Linked DNA regions of Homo sapiens: region 2 is linked to region 1. Evidence: promoter capture Hi-C in human tissues and cell types (Jung and others, 2019). All regions are on one chromosome and are shown on one strand. Each heading gives the region's core, a stretch centred on a gene start or on the middle of the fragment in contact. The rest is flanking DNA. Distances are from core to core; before and after follow the strand shown.

Region 1 (3,945 bases), core at 754-3,253:
AAGGCTGTGCTGGGATGATTCACTACACATTACACTTCATTCAACTTTAAATGGCAATGAGATAAACAATTACCATTTGCCAATTACCTCATTTTCAATAGACAAATTCAGGATCAATGTTTACAGCCTTTTAGTTTTGGATGTTCAACTTCAAAAAAAAAAACATCCACATTAAACTGATCAGTACCTCAGGTAATGAATAGTAAAATAGTAGTATCCGCCATCATGCATGGTAAAACACAGCAGTGGTGATTTTGTGTGGCGCTTCAGTGGTGTGGTAGTGGCAATGGCAGGGACTTGAAGTTTTCCTATAATATTTATCATTATTATCTAAAAAAGACATACGTAATAACATTACACCTCATACATAACATCTAACACATTTAGAATATAAAAGGGAAAAGAATGGCTAGATGTAAAGATAAAAACACTTATGAAGTGACCAAATATCCACACCAACTACCATGATTAGACTAGATGTCAAAAATAAAAACTGAACAAAATTAAAGTGATTCATTTCTTTCTCATGTAAACTTTTCCAACTATCCCTGAAGCATAAGTCCAAGACTTGCTTCCCACCCAAAGATAAGACTGTGTATTTAGACTACTGGAGTGGAAATGAAATTAGTATTGCTCTCCCATATCAGCTCCAAGAAATATACAGAGTAAAAGCAATGACACTTGAACCACTAAGAAGGACTTTAGGATAAATGAGTTTCTCTGAGTCTCAACAGAAAAATGGAAGACAGTGCACAGAAGCAAGATAAGCTAGAAAGAAGATGAGGATATTCGTAGTGAAACCAACTGAGAGCATTTGTTAGGGGTGGTAGTACAGACTCCTAATTACAGGGTTAAAGCCAGCTAGGAAGATCCACAGGGTCAAGTAGAGAGCTTGAAAAGCCTGAGAAGGAGTGGGGACCTGACCGTGGTCCTGAAAGAGAACAACTTGCAGATGATAACGAACCGTCTGCTAGCAACCACACAACATCCTATCTATTTTTTTTCCTACTGTAGCTTAAATGAGCTAAATGTCCAATAATATTCGTACTCAAAAAAAAAAAACTAAAAACTTTCTCTTATCATCAAATCGTCTTTATTCATGTCCTTCTTCCTGAACAGCCTCTGCTTGAGTGTTAGGCTCATTTAAGGATTAAAAGATACGCTATTCTAGCTCAAAAGCAGGAATCAAGGTTCTGACAAACTCACAACACTTAAAATTCTACAGAAAGCTTACACTTGGCAATCCTGCATTTCTTAAACTCAGATAGAAAATCATACCTATCCGAAATATATCACGGAATGAAGCTCCAAGAAAGAACACTCCAAGCTCTCCTTTTGATCTAGGGAGCCTTGAAACTCTAGAAAGATTAGGTACACCGATATTCCCCTTTTCACCTCAGAAAATTACAACCAATTCCCTAAAGATACACCAAAATGCAGGTCCCACAGTGAATACGGGCGTCGGTCTTTCCTCAGGCTGCGTTTCAGTCCTTAACAAACCCAAGAACTCAAGAGAGCCAACTATTACACCAATACAAAGTGTTAATACTACACCAAACCATGAGGGAACAAATTTCTCCGCACAAAAGATACCTTGGCAAGAACAGAAGAAAATTCACTCCGCTGGTGCAAAAGGGAAGGTGGGAGCAAAAGTAATGTGTACGAGAAAAATCAGTCTCAGAAAATGCCATACCACTCGTTCAAGTGTAAGACTTACGTGTTCCGTCAAAACGGGTGGCGATGGTGTCCAGGAAGGTGTTTTGCGGCGCCAGTAATCCTTTCATAACCGGCATTTTTCCAGCGTGGTGTGAAATTCTCCATCAAAGTTTGTCCAGAAGGATGGTTCGAAAGGAAAGTGCCAAGAAGGGAGAAGGGGAACCTGATGACGGCAGGGAAGGGGGACCCGGCCTGACGGCGGGGCCGAGCAGGGGAAGTGGAAGGATGGAGGGAGAAAGGGAGAGAGTTCCAGCCGCCCCGGCTGTGGCAGGAGGAGCCCCAAGAGCGCTCCCCGAGCCCGCCCCGCACCTCCAGGCTCAGCCCGGCGCAGGCTCCCTCTCCCGCCCCCTCCACCCCCGCCAGCTGCTGAAACCCCCCCACCGTCCCTCCGCGGGCAACAGTGCCCGCCAGGCGCCGCCGCGCGGTGCCTCGCCCCCCACGTCGCCCGCCCGGAAAGAGCCCGCAGTGGCCCGGGGCGCCGCGCCCTGACCGACGTCTCTGGGGTCTGGGAGGGCGGCGCTGAGAGCTGGGAGAGGCGCTGAGCCTCCCGGTCTCCACGGGACGCCGGGAAAGGAGAGCGAGCGCAACTCCCACGCCCCGGGAGCCAGTGAACAAAGACCCCTTTGTTCCCTCTCCGTCCCACTCCCGGGGAGACTGGAGTCCCGTGGGTGTGGTATTGGAGAAAGGGAGGAGACAGGTCGGGGCAGGTATCCGGCCTCAACCTAGAACTTAGGAGGGGGAGGCCCCCCAGTGGTGTCCAAGGGAGCAGAGGCAGCCAGGAGCCCCACGGGGAGGCGGCCCCCTTCCGGAGCACTTGCCATTGCGAGCCCACGCGACAGGGGCAGGGCAGCCCGAGTTAGTTGTGAGGCCCATCCCCAGTCACCAGGGTCTTTTAGTCCGGGAAACTGGCCCCGAGCTCCAAAAAGGGGTGCTTCAGCCCTTCTCCCCAAATTGCCATTGGCCTCCCCAAGCCATCCCAAACTTTAAAAAAATAGCCTTTTGAACGGACAATGGATGGTTTCCCATTCTCCGGTAAAATGTGAATAAAGCATTTCTAGAAAAGTTTGCTATTTTTATTAATTTGCAAAATACCACGTAAGTAAAAACAGTAAGGCTGCCTTCCAAAAATAGCTTCAAACACAAATCCCCTAGCCTGCCCCCCTTTCCCCAGCCCCCACTCCCGAAGACTGACACCTCCAAGAAGAAAGCCTGGCGGACGGCCAGGAACTGAAGGCGTCTCAGAAAACGAAAGTGGTCTCTCCCAGTCCTCCCCCCTGGCCCCCCCCGCGGGGACTCCCTCTCGGCCAACGTTCTGCGGGGAAAGTCGCCCAAGCCTGCGGCACAGCCCTGTGGGGAGTGCAAGGGGACACCCAGAGCCCGAACTTTATAGAAAACTCTGCAAGGGAGGTGGAGTGTGGAAGGGAAGTTGAGAGCCCCAGGGTAGAAAAACAAACGTAAGCCCAGGTGCTAGTGCACCCGGAAGGAAAGGAGGGAAAAAGCAAACAGGTGTCAGAGCCGCGGCGAGGCAGCTCTGATCTCCAGGAACTCGGGCGTGGCGGGAGGAGGGAGGGAGGGCCCACCCCCCGCCCCCTTACTAAGGGGGTTTCTTGTTTCAATTATCTCGGCTGTTGGGGCTTCGGGGGGGACCCCGCGGGTTTCGTCACGTCTGCCTTGGGCTCCGGGAGGGAGGGGGAGAAGAGAGAGAAGCGGCATCCCCCTCTCCCCGCCCCCAGGCCCCCTTTCTCGTGATGCACTTCCTGCGGCCGAGGATTCCCTTTGTGTTGAAATTCGAGAAGATCCGGCAGAGGCTCTAGGCTAGCTGGGCGGGGGCGCGCCGGGGAGGGGACAGGATTCCGGAGTGGGCGGCGCGGGGCGGCCATCCCAGAAGAGAAGCTACCAACGTGGGGTTCCTCGCCCAGCTGCACCCTGCTTCTGCCGCAGGTCCGTCCCTGTCCTCCCCTCAATCCTTGTGTCCCACCCCAGCTTCGCTTTTCGGAAACCGAGCTCACGCGGGTGGAGTCCCCCACGCGGCGAGCCGATCGCAACTGCAGGTGGCTATGTGGCTCAGTCTTGGGCGGAGCTGGGGAGAAAAAGATGAGGGAGTCCCTGTTGTTTGGGTGGCGCATCGTGTCCCAGAAAATTCAGGCTGTTGCTGCCGATGTAAAACGGAGATAAACGCCACCCGTGAATTGGCTCGAAGTTCAGGATGAAATGTATTAGTTGTAAGCT
Region 2 (3,945 bases), core at 985-3,484, 84 kb before region 1:
AAGTCTCACCTAATGTCATTGATAGGTTTTTGGAAGCTGTGACTTTAAGCAAAGCAAGGTATAATAAAACCAATTTTACCATAGGCTAATTGATACAAACAAGAGTTAAGTTCCTATGGCACATTTCTCCTAACGTCACCAAACTTCTAAATAAAAACCAAAACACTTCTAATACTAAACACTGAGATAAGCGCGAACTATACATACATTTAACAAAGTTTAATAAAAACAAGTAAGATAATTATTTACCCAGCTACTTCAGTTCAGTGTCACAGAGTGGCCAGAGCCTATCCCAGAAGTTCAGGGTGCAAGGCAGAAACCCACGCTGGACAGGACATCATTCTATTGCAGGGTGCATTCACACCCACCCACACTCACTCAGACTGGGATCATGTACGCAGGTCAAATTCAGCGGTGACAGCGTGCTGGCAGTGCTCACGGCCCTCTCTCGCTCTCCGCGCCTCCTCTGCCTGGGCTCCTACTTTGGCGGCACTTGAGGAGCCCTTCAGCCCGCCGCTGCACTGTGGAGCCCCTTTCTGGGCTGCCCAAGGCCGGGAGCCGGCTCCCTCAGCTTGCGGGAAGGTGTGGAGCTCGGAGAAGCGCGGGCGGGAACCGGGCCTGCGGACGGTGCTTGCGGGCCAGCGGGAGTTCCGCGTGGGCGAGGGCTCGCGGACCCCGCACTCGGATTGGCCGGCCAGCCCCACCCGCCTGGGGCAGTGAGGGGCTTAGCACCTGAGCCAGCAGCTGCTGTGCTCAATTTCTCGCAGGGCCTTAGCTGGCTTCTCGCGGGGCAGGGCTCGGGACCTGCAGCCTGCCATGCCTGAGCCTCCCCCCAACTCCGTGGGCTCCTGTGCGGCCGGAGCCTCCCCACGAGCGGCGCCCCCTGCTCAACGGCGCCCAGTCCCATGGACCACCCAAGGCCTGAGGAGTGCCGGCCCACAGCGCGGGACTGGCAGGCAGCTCCACCTGCAGCCCCGGTGCGGGATCCACTAAGTGAAGCCAGCTGGGCTCCTGAGTCTGGTAGGGACGTGGAGAACCTTTGTGTCTAGCGCAGGGATTGTGAACGCACCAAACAGCGCCCTGTCAAAACAGACCACTGGGCCCTACCAATCAGCAGGATGTGAGTGGGGCCAGATAAGAGAATAAAAGCAGGCTGCCGGTGCCAGCAGTGGCAACCTGCTGGGGTCCCCTTCCACACTGTGGAAGCTTTGTTCTTTTGCTCTTTGCAATAAATCTTGCTGCTGCTCACTCTTTGGCTCCACACTGCCTTTATGAGCTTTAACACTCACCGCGAAGGTCTGCAGCTTCACTCCTGAGCCAGTGAGACCACGAACCCACCAGAAAGCAGAAACTCCGAACACATCCGAACATCAGAAGGAACAAACTCCAGACACGCCGCCTTTAAGAACTGTAACACTCACCGCGAGGGTCCATGGCTTCATTCTTGAAGTCAGTGAGACCAAGAACCCACCAATTCCAGACACAAAATTACCTAGCGTGTACATCTTTGACACGTGAGAGGAAACCAGAGTACCCAGAGAAAATCCACACAAGAGAACAAGCCAACTCCACACAGACAGTGGCCCAGGCTGGGAACTGATGTTTTTTTCTCATCAATGTTATAATAAATGACTTGAATGAAACAATATTATTCAAGGATCTGCTGTACATCTATTTGCTCCAATTGAACTACTCAACTGTAGGATAAACTCTAACAGTTTATCCATTCATGAAAGAATATTTAACTTCTTTCCTTCCTTCCTATCTTCTTTTCTTTCCCTATAATAAACAAAGCAGCAAAGCACAGAAGCATAAGTTCTAGAGTTTCTTGAAGCTCACTGTAAGCATTATAACCTATAAAAACACTACATGCATTTTTGTAAAATATTTGTCCAGTAATTATTCCAATTGTTTCATGTTTCTAGGTAGATTTAACAAATAATACTAGTGACTCTTCTGCTACAAACTTTTCACTGATTAAAAAGTCCCTCACCTACTATTGTGTCCTGAAACTGGCACCCACTCAGTGTGCTGACAGTAGCAATAAGATCAAATCAAAGTTATTTTCAACAGTATCAAGAATTAACAGCTCCAGACAGAGATGGCTGCCATTTAAGATAACAGCTCAATTTATGTAGTGGGGTGGGGGGGGGGAGGAATATCAAGACATTGAGGTGTAGGGATAAGAGACAAGTAGCATTTTAATCAAAACATTAGAAAATGGCCAAGCACTACTAATAGGGGACTTATTTAGGTTGAATCATAGAAAATTGCCATTTTATGTGTCAAACATCAGCAATATATAAAAATCAGCTGTTCCTCATGCTTTGAATTTGGCAACAGCATGAATAGTATTCTCTGAAATGGCCAAGAACTATTTCTGAGACCTGTAGCTACACGTGACCCATGCCAATTGAGATTTGGATGTGTTCCCAGGTGCTACAGGGCATCTTTCATACCATACCTCTCAGATGCTTCATACAATTCTCATACACTCATCCTTTACCCAAGAGCTGCTATCCCAGGTTGGGCATTTGTGCATTTCACAAAGAATCTAAGCCAAACGGGAAACAGTGTGCCAGTGACTAACCTTGCACCCCAGGATCCACTCAAGGAGATTCTTTTTCCTAACTGATTTGTCCACCAGGAGTACCTTTTTCTAATTTTTACAAAAGCATCCTATAGGCTAATTCCTGATCACTTTTTGAATTCTATACAAGCTTGGACATTAAAGCATAAGATTAGCTAGGTAAGAAAACAGTGGGCTGAAGTTTCATAACACGTGCAAATAGAAACTCTCCTTTATTGTATTGGATCCTTGGTTTTCTTGTAGCTAAGATTTTCTACATCAAACATCCCTTTGATGAAAATGTTGAGGGATTTTCTCCAGATTCTCAGTGAAGGATATGGTTGAGGAAATAAAACCAAGAGTCAGATTATCTTCTTGGCAACCAAGCACAGATGACGTATTCAAGTTACATTAGGACATTTGCAATCTATTGATTGAAGTAAATAAATCTGGAAGGTGTGTCTTGTTTGCTAATCATGCAAGAGGCTTCCATGTGATCCTGAATTTTTCTTTGAAAAGGAAAAAAACACTAATTCCTGTCAATTATTTTCACACTAAAAAATACATTCCAATCAAGATACAGCAGCAAACATTTCAAATGCATAATTCAAAGATTGTGAAAGCAATTCAGCATAGTGACCTCTGAATTGAGCTAGAGGCTGTGTATTCTCTTTTGGTGTCAGGTCTCAAAACTCGCGGCAATTAATTTGATGTATTGATTTAATATTTCAGGAAGGAATGTATTTACCTGGCAAAGGCACTGTGAAAGATGTTTTGAAGAGAAAAGAAATGTTTGCAAATGAAGACAAGCTCCTTTGATGAAAGGAAAGCTGAGAGTGAGTAGCATTCACAGAATCAGACCCCAAACACTTATTACTTCAAGGCTCGATTTCCCAAATTAGAGCTAATAATGATTCAGCATTGCACTGTTGGATACTTCATTCTGTAAAAGAATACCATGGGGTAGAAAGGAAGCCATGCAACAGATATGATCTTGTAGGCTGGCCCATTAAGAGAGGGTTATTTAAACTAGAGCTAAATTAGAAAGAACCATTTCAACACTATATACCTAAGCCAGCAGTTTTGGAAAAAAGATGCCATCTCTCTTTTTCAATATATAAATTTACTATTACTTTTTAAATTGTCTGTTCTGATTATATAAATAAGAAAGTACTAAATAAAATATAAAATGTAAATGTAAAAAAAGTATAATTCCATTATACAAAGACCACCAGATTTTCTCTCATCTTTCTTATTTACTCAAAAGAAGTTACAGTTTATCTACAACATACCGAGCATTATGCACAATAAGGACACTACACTAGTGAATGACACAATCCTTTCCCTTGGATTTGTTTGGTGTAGTGGGGAACATG

Evidence for each region. The method cuts DNA at HindIII sites, captures the fragments that hold promoters and counts their contacts. A contact is called where the count stands out against the background at its distance.
Region 2: a contact is called between a fragment that was not itself captured here and the fragment with the promoter of KCNH8 in region 1, in 2 of the 25 tissues and cell types used here (dorsolateral prefrontal cortex and hippocampus).

The regions. Positions count from the first base shown.
Region 1 is chr3:19,146,568-19,150,512 of GRCh38, reverse strand. It overlaps KCNH8 (potassium voltage-gated channel subfamily H member 8), which reads right to left and starts at 2,003. Exons shown (of 16, transcript NM_144633.3): 1 at 1,718-2,003. The coding sequence starts at 1,793. RefSeq lists enhancers at 2,561-3,154, 3,155-3,748 and a silencer at 3,442-3,613. The HindIII fragment of the contact is 8,005 bases long and covers 1-3,945 here.
Region 2 is chr3:19,231,271-19,235,215 of GRCh38, reverse strand. The region is part of intron 1 of KCNH8 (potassium voltage-gated channel subfamily H member 8); the gene reads right to left. Among named protein-coding and RNA genes, the nearest start is that of MIR4791, 82 kb to the left of the region's middle. RefSeq lists enhancers at 350-865, 866-1,382. The HindIII fragment of the contact is 4,114 bases long and covers 178-3,945 here.